Linked DNA regions of Homo sapiens: regions 1 and 2 are each linked to region 3. The links are contacts of gene promoters, found by promoter capture Hi-C in blood cells and fetal thymus (Javierre and others, 2016). All regions are on one chromosome and are shown on one strand. Each heading gives the region's core, a stretch centred on a gene start or on the middle of the fragment in contact. The rest is flanking DNA. Distances are from core to core; before and after follow the strand shown.

What was found. Contacts are between HindIII fragments. The CHiCAGO score rates a contact against its expected background, and 5 or more counts as called.
Region 1: a contact is called between the fragment with the promoter of UBE2Q1 here and the fragment with the promoter of DPM3 in region 3, in 5 of 17 cell types (neutrophils, total B cells, fetal thymus and 2 more). The highest score is 12.7, in neutrophils.
Region 2: the fragment with the promoter of RXFP4 here is called in contact with the fragment with the promoter of DPM3 in region 3 in 2 of 17 cell types (neutrophils and monocytes); the score reaches 5.3 in neutrophils.

Annotation. Positions count from the first base shown.
Region 1 is chr1:154,555,596-154,560,166 of GRCh38, forward strand. It overlaps UBE2Q1 (ubiquitin conjugating enzyme E2 Q1), which reads right to left and starts at 3,067. Exons shown (of 13, transcript NM_017582.7): 1 at 2,632-3,067; 2 at 265-369. The coding sequence starts at 2,958. RefSeq lists silencers at 2,662-2,761, 3,082-3,161, 3,252-3,341, 3,462-3,551 and enhancers at 2,921-3,502, 3,503-4,083. The HindIII fragment of the contact is 10,457 bases long and covers 1,260-4,571 here.
Region 2 is chr1:155,939,500-155,943,930 of GRCh38, forward strand. RXFP4 (relaxin family peptide/INSL5 receptor 4) reads left to right here and starts at 2,139. Exons shown (of 1, transcript NM_181885.3): 1 at 2,139-3,588. The coding sequence starts at 2,211. The coding sequence ends at 3,335. RefSeq lists a silencer at 1,579-1,873 and an enhancer at 2,193-2,692. The HindIII fragment of the contact is 9,136 bases long and covers 1-3,520 here.
Region 3 is chr1:155,138,885-155,143,785 of GRCh38, forward strand. It overlaps DPM3 (dolichyl-phosphate mannosyltransferase subunit 3, regulatory), which reads right to left and starts at 1,647. Exons shown (of 2, transcript NM_153741.2): 1 at 1,607-1,647; 2 at 1,007-1,361. The coding sequence starts at 1,356. The coding sequence ends at 1,078. RefSeq lists enhancers at 1,587-1,716, 1,887-1,946. The HindIII fragment of the contact is 26,354 bases long and covers 1-4,901 here.

The DNA of each region.
Region 1 (4,571 bases), core at 1,817-4,316, 580 kb before region 3:
ATGAGCTCTTAGTTTGGGCCCCACACCAATAACTAGTTCTCTAAGCCTTATGGGCCACGTGGCTGTGGGAATGAGTCTCCTGATGGACCAATCCCAGGGCCGATGCAGGGTCTCCCTCTGGCTTCAGTAAGCAACTCCCCCGAGAGGTCATCCCCTAAATGTTTAGCTGTGTACCGTCCACTTTTCAGGATCCCTTTCACAGGATGCCTTTGTGGCATGGGCCTCATAAGAACAAAATGTACCCCTACCCTGTGGCCCCCTCACCAGAGTATTCCCTTTCTTTATGTCCACCAGCCTCTCCAAGACAGCAGCCAAGTTAGGGTCATCAGACTCCACCGACCAGATGGGGGGCACAGCAGGGTATGACTCCTGAAGGGAAAAGAGCAATAAGAGCAATCAAAATGGGTGACTCTGGGAAAAGCCAGATTTTGCCTGTCCTCTTCCCCCCAAGACTTCTAGCCCCTTTGCTTCCCACCCCCACCCCCTACACACACATAAAAGCCCAACTTAGGTCAGCATCTAACCAAGCAGCTTCACAACAAATTCTAAACTGGAAGAAAAACAGTCCCTGGGAAGACCCTTTCCGAGAAGCAGACTGAAACCTTTTCTTTCTTTCCTCGAGAGTACAAACCAGGAAACCTAGCACAGCCAAACTTGGCTAACAGCGAAGGGGGACTCCTCATCTCCTGCACTGCCTATACAAGTTCTAGACTTCAAGTTCTCCCTGGACCCAGAACAGTCCTCCAAGCTTGCTTTTCAAACTCCAGAATCGGCTGAGGAAGGGATCACCTCATCACAATGACACTGAAGTGAAAAAAGCAGAGTTCAGTAGGGAAGAAGTATAAAAACTAGACTGTATCTCCAGAACCCAAGAGTAAAAGGGTACTGGCAAGAATCTACCCACACCACTTCCAGAAGAGCCCCTCAAAGACCAATTCTCCCCACCTCTCCCTTGGGAACCTGCCACCTTCTCAGTCCAGGCGTGGGCTGTAGGGCTCCACATGGCAGGCTGGGAGAAAGAAGCCTACGCTACTGACATTCCCAGCATTCCTGAGCCACGGTGCCAAATGCAGCCTGACCAGACTCCCTCTCTGCCCAAACCAAGGGGGCTAGTTTAGGCCAAGTCTCCTTTATAGCCATGGGGAGTCTGGCTGAGGACCCCCTAAATTTAACTTCCTGCCAGGGACAAACGCAGTAAATGGCCTCTGGCAACAGAAAGAGCAGCTGGATAGGGGCAAACCTACCCTTAAGGAATTAGAAGCTTAATTCAGGAACAAAATTAACTCGAGGTTCCCACACAAGCCAGGGAAACCTTATCCACCTCTACTGGGTATCTTAGCATTGCCATGACTCTAATCCTCAATGCTGGAGGAAAAATAATTATCAAAGATGCCCAAGTCTTCACTTAACTAAGCCACTCCTAGTCCTTCAATTTTAACTTTCTAGCAGGAAAAAAGAAAGGAAATGAAAAGAGAAATGGGACATATGAGTTTTGGTGGGGCACCAATCAATCCAAACTGAGGCTTTACCTCACCAAATCTTAACTTGGTTTGATTGAGAAAACGGACAGAAAACACCAGTAAGTTGAATTCAGGCCCCCAAGTAGCAGAGAATTCACAACTCTGCCTTTCCCCAGGCTACTCCGATTAGGTCTGCCTGCCTGGATAAAGTACTGTCTGCTAGCATTTCAGCTACTGCTCCGGTAGAGAGAATACCATCACAGCAGGTAACATCAACCAATATAAGTGCTATAGCATGCAGTACCAGACATTCCCAAATTAGCAGAAGCCAATTCTCTGTTCAAGGGATGTCTGAGGGTAGACCAGGCAGGAGACATGTAAGGTGTATGCCTAGGATGGAATGACGCTCACAGGGGAGAAATGCAACTGTTACTGCTTAGAATAAATGGGGGTAGCCCTCGCACATCACATCACTATCATTACCAGGAAAAGCAACAACCCAGGGCAAATGGACATATCCATAGGGAACAGGCAGGGGAGTGGCAGAACTGCTACCAGCTGAGGCAAAAAGAGGAGAGTTAGAGGTTACACCAGAAAAAGAATCCAAAGGAGAGAAGGAAGAGGAGTCAATGAATTGCAAACTATCACTTGGTGAAGTTGAGAGAGCAAGAGGGTCTGCATGAGGGATGCCTAGGCGGGGATCCCACAGGTGGCAACCTCCTAAGTCAGAGGTACTACTGAGAAGGGGGCATCGCTGAAATGTGCAGTGAGTTTCAGGCCAGGTCTTTGCAGTTAGGGTCAGTGCCGAGGCCTAAAACCTTGAAATAAGAGTAAGGGGAAGAAAGACGCATTCCTAGGTGGCAAGGTAAAGTTGTGGAGGAGTAGCCAAAAAGAGCCAAAATCATGAACCTTGGGATGTGGGTGGGTTCGTGGAAACGGGTAGTCTAGGCGCCATATGTCGGGGTGTCCCTTGCTATTGGGGTCAATGGTAGAGATTCTGGGTGCACTGCATAACCTCAAGCAGCAGAAACAAATGTAACCTGGAGAGAAAGAACTGAGCCCTGAGAGGGGCTTCGGCCTCCCAGGTCCTTCGAGAGCAAAAAGCTGGATGGAGTGATCCTGGGTCCCTGACAAGGGGCCCCCACAGAGGCGCACGCGAGGGGGTCCTCACCGTGATGTTGCAGTGGATGCGGACAGGATCCCCAGGCACCGACCCCCGTGGGGGGAGATGCGGTCCGGGCGCGGCCCCCGCCCCGGCCCCTCCGGCCCCAGCCAGCAGGAACTCGCAGCTCAGCTCGTCCAGGCAGGCGCTGGCAATGCGGAAGCGCTCGTGGCCGCGGTGGAAGATGGACTCGAGCAGCTTCAGCTCTCGCCTCAGGCAGGGCCCCGGCCCCGGGCCCCCCCCTGGGCCGCCCCCGGCCCCCGGCGCCGCCCCCTGGCCCCCCAGCTGCTGCCCCGGCCCCGGCTGCTGCTGCCCCTGCGGCTGCGGCTGCTGCATCCTCCGCTCCGCTCCGCTCCGGGGCCGGCGGGCCGGGAGCCTCCGGCCTGCGCTCCGGGCTCCGCCGCCGCCGCCGCCGCCGCCGCCGCCGCCGCGGTCCGCACTTCCTGATCCCCCCTTCGCCAAGATGGCGCCGCCGCCACCTCCGGGACAGGCCCCCCCCTCCGCTCGCTGGCCCCCCCAGCCGCCGGAAGCCGCGCGCCCCTCCTCCTCCTCCTCCTCCTAGGCGGCCCCGCCTCCGTCCCCCTCACGTGACTTCCCTGCTCTGGCCTCCTCCACGTGATCTCTCCGTCTTTCCCGCCCCCCTGTTCTCGCCTGCCACCCTCCACATGTGACCCGGGGCCTGGGGCTTGCCTCTGTGGGCGCCTCAGTGCGAGTTTGCGTATGTCGTGCGTGCTTGCGCGCGACGCCCCTTCGCCTGCGCTCCCCTCTCACGTGACTCGGTGCCGCGTGCTCCCAGGGGCTACCCGCGCAGGACGCTGTTTCCTGCCCCGGGCGCCGCTTCCCCCGCCCCCGAGCCGTGGCGAGCGTGCCCGGCACTCCATGGACAGAGAAGAAAGAAGTGCTGTCTTCCCCGTGCAGTCTTTATCCTGCTCCCACATGCTGGTCTTCGGCGCAGGATCCTGGAGCCTCTGCTCCCCGTGGGGGTGGGCATGCTGTGTCTTCACACTCGGGTGGGTGGTCGGGGTAGGAGCCGGGAACCGGAATGGAAGAGGCGTGGATTCTCGTCCCAGCCCTGGCTCTCATGGCGTTTTGTGACCTTGGGTTAACCACTTTCCCGCCGAGTCTCAGTTTCCTCATCTGTACAATGGCTCTCATGAGAATGATGCCTGTTTTTCCTATTCCCAGGGAGGGATTCGATGCGAGGACACCATAAAATGAGGAATGATAATAGATCACTGCTGTGTTATGTACAAGTGTTAGTTAATATCAGGCCTTTCGCGCTTTTCAGACCCCATGGGTCTGGACGAGGTTGGGGGAAGGACAGCATGGGCTTCCTCCACAGAGTCATGGAAGGAGTGCTGACTCGGGTGGTCCCCATTCCCTTTCCTAGGCCTAAATGGCTAACACCTTGTCGCAGTGGTCTTGGCAGCTGCCAGGAGTAGGTAGTGCCTCCGGACCCTCGCTAGGTGGCACTATCACAAAGGACAAAGCTGGTTGAAGCTACAGAAATCCCGAGCTGGCGTTCGTTTTGCCAAGGGCAAGTGTTATTAGCCTGTGGTAAGGCCTAGTCAATTCTGCTGGGCCAACTCAGCCCTTAAACCACTGGTCAGATTGCCCCGTTTCTCTCCCACTTGTACTAAAATGAGCTAGCCTTTGCTGGAAGACTATTCAATTGCCTCTGCAGAGGCCTCCTTTGGTCAAGTTGGGGTATGGGTATTTAAAGACGATTATAGTCTGTTCCTGGTCTTCGTGGGGCCATTTATCTGGTTTAGGTAGCCTGAACAGTTTGCTACATGTTGACTTTGTGTCTGTGTGTGCAAGCTGATAGCATAAAAGGCTGTGGTGGGAATTCCTGTTAATTATTTCCTGAGCGAAGGTGTTTTGCAAATATATATATATATATATATATATATATATTTATTTATTTATTTATTTATTTATTTATTTTA
Region 2 (4,431 bases), core at 889-3,388, 800 kb after region 3:
GCTTATGGCTGTAATCCCAGCACTTTGGGAGGGTGAGGTGAGAGGGTTGCTTGAGCCCAGGAGTTCAAGACAATCCTGGGCAACATAGGGATACCCCATCTCTCCTAAAAATACAAAAATTAGCCTGTGTGGTAGCACATTCCTGTGGCTGAGGTAGGAGGATCACCTGAGCCTGGGGAGGTCGAGGCACTGAGCCAAGATTGTGCCACTGCACTCCAGCCTGGGTGACAGAGTGAGACCTCTTCTCAACCAAAAAAAAAAGAAAAAAAGAAAAAAAATTTTTTTTTTTTTTTGAGATGGAGTCTCGCTCTGTCGCCCAGGCTGGAGTGCAGTGGTGTGATCTCAGCTCACCAAAATCTCTGCCTCCCGGGTTCAAGTGATTCTCCTGCCTCAGCCTCCCGAGTAGCTGTGATTACAGGCACTCGCCACCACGCGCCACTAATTTTGTATTTTTAGTAGAGACGGGCTTTCCCCATGTTGGTCAGGCTGGTCTTGAACTCCCGACCTCAGGTGATTCGCTCACCTCGGCCTCCCAAAGTGCTGGGATTACAGGCATGAGCCACCTCGTCTGGCCAAGCAGTTATCTTAATTGCCAGATTAGCAGGGTGATTCTGGGTGGGCAGAGGAGTAGACATGGCCCCGAGAGACAGTGATGACACAGTCACACAGGAGCAGCCATGAGGCCAGAAGGTAGCCTGTGGGGCTCACCTGACCTTGGGCTGGGCACTCCCCTTCTGCCACCCCCTTTATACTCATCCCTGGTTCGAAAGCCCCAACATGTTGGCACCCAGCCTGTATCACTCTCACCTCTGGGTTTCTCCTATGTGTTCACAAGCCCACTGCTGATTTATTGTCGCAAAGGGCCCCTCTCTTCCCTCAGCACTCCAAAGGAACTGAACATCGAACGTTATCTTAATTAGCTGGCAGAGGGCAAGAAGGGGCTGAATATATTGGAATCCTTGAGAAAGCCTTACTCTTTTACCTATCCACCTCCTGCCTTCTCTTTGTCCCCACCTCAGCTCCTTCTGCAGTAGGTAGAGATGTAGGCAATGAAAGGGGAGGGCCCAATGAAGCATTTTTTTTTTCCAGTTATGATTGAGATCATGGGGAGACAGGATGAGGTGTGGTGAGGGCGTATCTCAGGATCCTTAGCTCTGACATGGGGTTTGCAGGAGAGAGTAGGGGGACCGCTGAGCTCTGTCCACAGACTAGAGCAGGAAAGGGGGGAAAGGCGGCGATAGAGGTTAGCAGGAATGTTTAATTATCAGGAGCAGGAACAGAACTGAGGGCATGCCCAGGTCCACACAGGCCCTCATAGGCCCAGTGTTCCCAGTGGGGAGGAAACAGGAAGCTGTGACTTCCTCTCTCTTTTCCCTCCCTGCTCTTAGCCTCAAGGTCACTGCTGCTGAGATGAATTCCAACCTGTTTTAGTTGGCACTGTTCCCTGGGCATGGTAATAGCCTCTCAGTACCCTTCTGCCACAAACACCCCAAACTTCTCCTTTGAAATAATATTCATACAAATTGCTATTTCACATGTGTTCTCTCATTGCATCATGCCACTCCTGTGAAGCAGACTTACCTGAAAATTTTAAGCAAGAAAACAGGCTTAGGGGAGTAAAGTAACTCTCCCAGTCACACGGCTAGTGAGCAGCAGGTCTGGGACTCCGCAGCCTCCGCTCTTTCCTCTCTTGGACACCCATGCTGATTCCCTGCCTCTATGCCACCTCCCAGGCCCCTTGCTTTGGGCCCCAAGGGAACACTTTCTGCAGAGGAGGGAGGCCTCTGCACTGTTAGGAACAGAGGCAGCTCTAGTTTGGTTCCTGTCATCTCTGGGACAGGGAACCTCCAGCTCTCTCCCTGGGGTGGAGGCTTGGGGCTGCCCTCCATAGCGGGGTAACTCTCCCTTCTCCCCTCCCTCTCTGCCATTTAGAGCCCCTCTTACAGGCGGGCGCATGCACATATACCCTGGCATTCAGGCTGTGCCTCGCCCTGCCCCACCTACCACCAATCTTGACCAACAGGAAGGTGGTGGGTTGTCCTTTCCACACCCCTCCCTCTGAGGTGTGGGCGTGGGCCAGGGCTCACCAGAGGCCCCAGAGAAGCACTTAATTCTACAGCCTCCTTCCTAGAGCCTTCAGTGGCCTCTGCCAGTCTGGCAGACACTTGCAGACCTCTCTTCTCAGCACCACCAATCTCTGATGCCCTGCGATGCCCACACTCAATACTTCTGCCTCTCCACCCACATTCTTCTGGGCCAATGCCTCCGGAGGCAGTGTGCTGAGTGCTGATGATGCTCCGATGCCTGTCAAATTCCTAGCCCTGAGGCTCATGGTTGCCCTGGCCTATGGGCTTGTGGGGGCCATTGGCTTGCTGGGAAATTTGGCGGTGCTGTGGGTACTGAGTAACTGTGCCCGGAGAGCCCCTGGCCCACCTTCAGACACCTTCGTCTTCAACCTGGCTCTGGCGGACCTGGGACTGGCACTCACTCTCCCCTTTTGGGCAGCCGAGTCGGCACTGGACTTTCACTGGCCCTTCGGAGGTGCCCTCTGCAAGATGGTTCTGACGGCCACTGTCCTCAACGTCTATGCCAGCATCTTCCTCATCACAGCGCTGAGCGTTGCTCGCTACTGGGTGGTGGCCATGGCTGCGGGGCCAGGCACCCACCTCTCACTCTTCTGGGCCCGAATAGCCACCCTGGCAGTGTGGGCGGCGGCTGCCCTGGTGACGGTGCCCACAGCTGTCTTCGGGGTGGAGGGTGAGGTGTGTGGTGTGCGCCTTTGCCTGCTGCGTTTCCCCAGCAGGTACTGGCTGGGGGCCTACCAGCTGCAGAGGGTGGTGCTGGCTTTCATGGTGCCCTTGGGCGTCATCACCACCAGCTACCTGCTGCTGCTGGCCTTCCTGCAGCGGCGGCAACGGCGGCGGCAGGACAGCAGGGTCGTGGCCCGCTCTGTCCGCATCCTGGTGGCTTCCTTCTTCCTCTGCTGGTTTCCCAACCATGTGGTCACTCTCTGGGGTGTCCTGGTGAAGTTTGACCTGGTGCCCTGGAACAGTACTTTCTATACTATCCAGACGTATGTCTTCCCTGTCACTACTTGCTTGGCACACAGCAATAGCTGCCTCAACCCTGTGCTGTACTGTCTCCTGAGGCGGGAGCCCCGGCAGGCTCTGGCAGGCACCTTCAGGGATCTGCGGTTGAGGCTGTGGCCCCAGGGCGGAGGCTGGGTGCAACAGGTGGCCCTAAAGCAGGTAGGCAGGCGGTGGGTCGCAAGCAACCCCCGGGAGAGCCGCCCTTCTACCCTGCTCACCAACCTGGACAGAGGGACACCCGGGTGAAGGGCGCAAGCTGAACACACTCCTCTTTCTGAGATCCACCAAGTGTAGGATCCTTGAGTCCTGGGGAGAAGCTGCCCTCTCTGCCAGGCTGCAGTGCCCTCAGGGAAAAGTCTGATCTTTGATCCCCAACTCTGGGTGTGGTGAATGGGGGAGGCGGGGGCTCAGATCAGAGCTGGATGTGACAAAGCTTAAGTCTTTATTTGGAGATGGGAAAGAAGAGGATCTGAGAATAAACCTCTGGATTATCCACAAATTGTCTTGACCTTTTATCCCAGTTCCACCTCCAGTTCAGTATGGAACAAAAGGATTCGTTGCTCCATTTCTGCTTTCTGCAAGAATACCTAGGAAAACTTCCCTAAGGGTTCTAGGCTAATGAATCAGAGGTCAGTGCCCATCTCTCTCTGTACCCACCCCCCACCTCAAAACAGGGTATCCCTTGTCTTTCTCCGGTATCAAGGCCAAAAATGCCAGCTTCCCCTGTCCTCACCTTACCATCTCAGTGGTGACCACTGAAACTTGCTGCCTGCAGAGGCCTCAGCTGCAAAAGCTGTAGTTCCCTTGAAGGGATGCCAGGTGTGGGGTATTGCTGGAATTTCCAGCACCTGCCAGGCCCTGGGTGTAAAACCCTGGTGCTGACGGGAGTGCCTGTGTGTCTCCCTTTAAATCAGGATTTGAAAGAAGTGAAGATAATGACAAGTCAAAGACATGGGTGGGGTGAAGGGAGGTGAGCGATTAAAGAGGGGAGGGGGCTGGGAGAACAGGCTGCAGGTAGAGCCAGAAAAGCAGAGACCTCAGAAAGTGGTGCTAGTCCTCCCTGCCCCAAATGCAAAGCCCAGAGTATCAATTTGAGTGTCAGAGCACCTGGATTCACAGCTTTACCTCCAGCAAATTACTTTACCTCTTTGTACCTCACTGTTCTCAACTGTAAAATGGGCTACTAAAGATTTAACAGTGAAATATACTGTTAGCTATTATTCTTGTTTGTTTGTTTGTTTGTTTGAGACAGAGTCTCGTTCTGTCGCCCAGGCTGGAGTGCAGTGGTGTGATCTCAGCTCACTGCAACCTCCGCTTCCCGGGTTCAAGCGATTCTCCTGCC
Region 3 (4,901 bases), core at 397-2,896:
AACCTGCCTGGTTTGGTGAAGGATAGATCCACAGTTATTCTCAGGTTGGTAGGGTAGGCTCAGAAAAGGTATCTCAAAGAACCAAAAGGTTGGAAAGACCCAGGAAGGCCTTAAAAATAACAAAACTTGGATGTTATGAAGAATGGAACTTAGGCTTCAAGAAAGTACTTCTGGCCGGGTAAGGTGGCTTATGTCTGTAATCACAGCACTTTGGGAGGCCCAGGCAGGAGGATCACTTGAGCCCAGGAGTTTGAGAACAGCCTGAGCAACACAGCGAGACCCTGTCACTACAAAAAATTAAACATTAGCCTGGTGGCGTGGTGGCATATGCCTGTAGTCCCAGCTACTCTGGAGGCTGAGGTGGGAGAACTGTTTGAGCCTGGGAGGGTGAGGCTGCAGTGAGCCATGATTGCACCACTGCACTCCAGCCTGGGCAACAGAGTGAGACCCTGTCTCAAAAAAAAAAAAAAAAAGAAGTAGTACGCCGGGCGCGGTGACTCACACCTGTAATCCCAGCACTTTGGGAGGCCGAGGCGGGCGGATTACGAGGTCAGGAGATCAGACCATCCTGGCCAACACGGTGAAACCCCGACTCTACTAAAAATACAAAAAATTAGCCAGGCGTGGTGGCAGGCGCCTGTAGTCCCAGCTACTCAGGAGGCTGAGGCAGGAGAATGGCGTGAACCCGGGAGGCGGAGCTTGCAGTGAGCCGAGATCACGCCACTGCACTCCAGCCTGGACGACAGAGCAAGGCTCCGTCTCAAAAAAAAAAAAAAAGAAGTACTTCCTACAGGGTTGAAAGGACCAGGAAAGTGAAATGTCATTTCCATCCTGAGAAATATTGAGAAGGGGTCTTTGCCTCCTTGGGAGCAAAAATGGGAACACCAGCAAGATGCAAAGATAAAGGCTGAGATGGCCTCAAGAAGGTGGTTCTTTCACATTCACTTCTCGACCGTTAGTACATAGAATCCCCAATACCCGTTTTCCATACTCAAACTAAACGAAGTTAGAAAATAAACTGGCTCTTTAATGGGAAATGGGAGGAAGGGCTGTCCGCACAGGAATGGGGTTAGGCTGTCAGAAGCGCAGCCCCCTGCGGGCTAAGTCGGCTCGGGCCTCCTGTATCTGGCTCTGCAGCTCGCGTGCGGCGTCCTCGCAGTCATGAAAAGTGGCCACACGATAGCCCACAGTGCCCAGGGCATAGCAGCCGGCGGACACCAGCAAGTAGGCGGGCAGTGGCCACAGGACTTCCTGGCAGGACAAGGGCAGCTCCAGGCCCAAGGCTCCCGTGGTCAGGGCCACCCAGGTGGAGCCCAGGATCGCTAGTCCCCAAAGCCACTGCGCTAATTTCGTCATGGTCACTGCGAGAGAAGGAAGCAATGCTCCCCTGAGGAGCAGAAAGGAAAAGCGGACCAAACTCAACCGAAGCCCGCCCACGGAGAGCATTAAAACCAGCCCTGGCCAGAGGGGAATCGCCGATCCCAGAGGTCCGAACTTGAGTGCCCACAAAAGGTGGAAGGGCCCCTTCCACCTTGCTACCCCCTCTATATTTGAGACCCACTCCCCATCTCTCGCCCTCCCCATTCAGCCTTCAACCTACACTTACCTCTACCCCACGTCTCCCCTTCCCCGCGCGGCCCGGATGTTGGCGTCCGGAAGTCCTCCCTGGTTCACGTTCCGCTTCCGCGCGGCCTTCTGGGAGTTGTAGTTCACATGGCGGCGCCTGGTGTACTCCTGGCCAGCGCCTCAATCTAGGCGGGGGTACAGTGGGCTGTGCTCCGCAAACGGGGAGCAGGCCGGGTCTGGAGAGGCCTCGGCGCTGCTTTCCCACCTTGGGCTACGCTCCAGGCTGGCGTGGGGCTTGAGGACATCCTTAAATGTTGCAACAAGATGGGAATATAATACCATTCCCCTTAAACTCAATTCTCCAGCGCTGAAATCCATTCCTTCATTCACTAGTTCATTCATTCGAAGATTTCTTTCTTTCCATTCTTGACAGGGTCTCTCTATAGTGCCTAGGCGGGACAGAACTCCTTTTTTTTTTTTTTTTTTTTTTTTTTTTTTTTGAGACAAAGTCTCGCTCTGTTGCCCATGCTGGAGTACAGTGGCTCGATCTCAGCTCACTGCAACCTCTGTCTCCCGAGCAGCTGGGATTACAGGCGCGCGCCACCACGCCGGGCTAATTTTTTTATTTTTAGCAGAGAACGGGGATTTCACTATGTTGGCCAGGCTGGTCTCAAACTCCTGACCTCAAGTGACTGGCCCACCTCAGCCTTCCAAAGTGCTAGGATTACAGGCATGAGCCACAGCGCCCGGCCAGAACATTTCTTGATTACCATGATAGACTTTGGAGATACAGAGATGTCAAGAGACTCGACCCCTTTCAGGTGGAGGGGGAAAGCAGGAGTCAGTGAAGCAGTTGCATTGACAACTAACCATGAAGGCTTGAGATTATTGTTAGAACAGAGGTAGTCATATTTTTACAAGGACAACAACCAATATAACTTGGAGCCAGAGGAAGAAGGGCTCCAGGAGTCTGGGTTTCAAAAAAAAAGAAAAGAAAAGAAAGACCAGAAGAATTACCTGAAGTGGTGAAGGCATTGAAAGAAAGAGTATAATTCTTTAGAACAGTTTTGGGGATGAATTTATTATGTATAGAGAGAAAGAGAGAGAGAGAACAAAGTAAGAGAAAAGGTTAGGCAATTATCAACTTCAGAGGAAACAAAGAGTTATATAAGAAAGGAAAGACAATTGATAAGCCTGTCTTATAAAGACCACATCTGTAGTTTGACAGTTAGGTTTATTAACTTGCCACAACAGAGAGATCACACACTAGAAGAACTGTGGGGCAACTCATTAAAAAGGAAGAAATATGGTCATTCAGATGATATGGTTTGGCTGTGTCCCCACCCAAATTTCAAGTTGATGTGTATCTCCCAGAATTCCCACGTGCGAGGGACCTAAGGGGAGGTAATTGAATCACGGGGGCCAGACTTTCCCGTGCTATTTTCATGATAGTGAATAAGTCTCACAAGATCTGATGAGTTCATCAGGGGTTTCTGCTTTTGCTTCTTCCTCATTTTTCTCTTGCCACCGCCATGTAAGAAGTGCCTTTGTCTCCCGCCATGATTCTGAGGCCTCCCCAGCAATGTGGAACTGTAAGTCCAATTAAACCTCTTTTTGTTTGCAGTTTCGGGTATGTCTTTATCAGTAATGTGAAAATGAACTAATACAACAGGATATGGGAAAGGCTTGACTTTAAAATTTATATTTTAAAATTTATTTACTTATTTATTTAGAGTTGAAGTCTCGGTATGTTGCCCAGGCGAAGCTCAAACTTCTGGGCTCAAGTGATCCTCCTGCCTCAGCCTCCCAAGTGGCTGATACTATAGGCTAGCTAAAATTTAAATGAAACAGTGTTTTGATCGGTTCGAGGTAAGCATAACTTTAAGTGAAGGGATCAAGAAGTCCAAGCTGAGGGACCACTTGGAAATTACAAAGTCAAGATAAATATAGAATATAGTGTCCAAAAACCCACTATCTAGGCTGGGCACAGTGGCTCGTGCCTGTAATCCCAACACTTTGGGAGGCCAAAGTAATCCACGTGGCTCAGAACTTCTGGCAAGAGTAGGATGTTCCATTCGCACTGACTGATTTCAAATAGCAAAGTTTGTGACTATGATTTTAGAAAATGAAGTTTCTCAGCCGTATGTCCTGGATGTTAATTAACAAAAGCAGTTTTTACAGATTCACAGTCTTAGCACAAACACAAATGGCTCAGCTGTGAAGAAAATTTTCACAGCCGTAACGATGTAAACACTAAGTATTGATTTAACTAAAAATTGGAGCTGGGGACAGTGGAGCTGTGATCCCAGAACTTTGGGAGGCCTAGGTGGGAGTGTTGCTTGAAGAAATGTACAGATAAGTACCAGAAGAAGCAGCCTAGAAACTGGAGCGTAGTTGTATATGTAGGTTGTATATGTAAGGGTTAAAGAAGAGGAGCAGGGGATGGTTATTTTTCATTAAAAGCCTTGTAGAGTTACAGCTCTTTTTTTTTCTATTCTTTTTCTTTTTTTCAGACAAGGTCTTGCTCTGTTGCCCAGGGTGGAGAGCAGCGGTGCAAACATGGCTTACTGCAGCCTCGACCTCCTGGACTCAAGCTATCCTCCCACCTCAGACTCTGGAGTAGCAGGGACTACAGAAGTGGGCCACCACCACCACGCCCATCTAGTGTGTGTGTGTGTGTGTGTGTGTGTGTGTGTGTGTGTGTGTGTGTAGACGGGGTCTCCCTATGTTGCCCAGGCTGGTCTCAAAATCCTGGGCTCAAGCAATTCATCTCAGCCCCCACAAAGTGCTGCTATTGCAGTCGTAAGCCACGGCGCCCACCGAAGTTACAGCTTTCAGAATTTGTTGAGCAGGTTTCCCGGTTTTCACTTGAAAATGCCCCGCCACCCCGAAAAATATTTGTTGAACTAGTTGGCTTTTAAAACTATACAAATTCCTTTGTTAAAGTAAAAATTAAAACAAATAAAAACTTTTCTTTTTTTTTTTGAGACAGAGTCTCGTTCTGTGGCCCAGGCTAGAGTACAGTGGCATGATCTCAGCTCACTGCAACCTCTGCCTCCCATGTTCAAGCGATTAGCCTGCCTCAACATCCCAAGTAGCTGGGACTACAGGCACGCACCACCACACCCAGCAAATCTTTGTATTTTTATTAAAGACAGGGTTTCACCATGTTGGTCAGGCTGGTCTCGAACTCCTGAGCTTGTGATCCTCCCACCTCGGACTCCCAAAGTGCTGGGATTACAGGCGTGAGCCACCGCGCTCAGCCCAAACTTTTTTTTTTTTTTTTTTTGAGCCGGAGTTTTGCTCTTGTCGCCGAGGTTGGGGTGAAATGACAC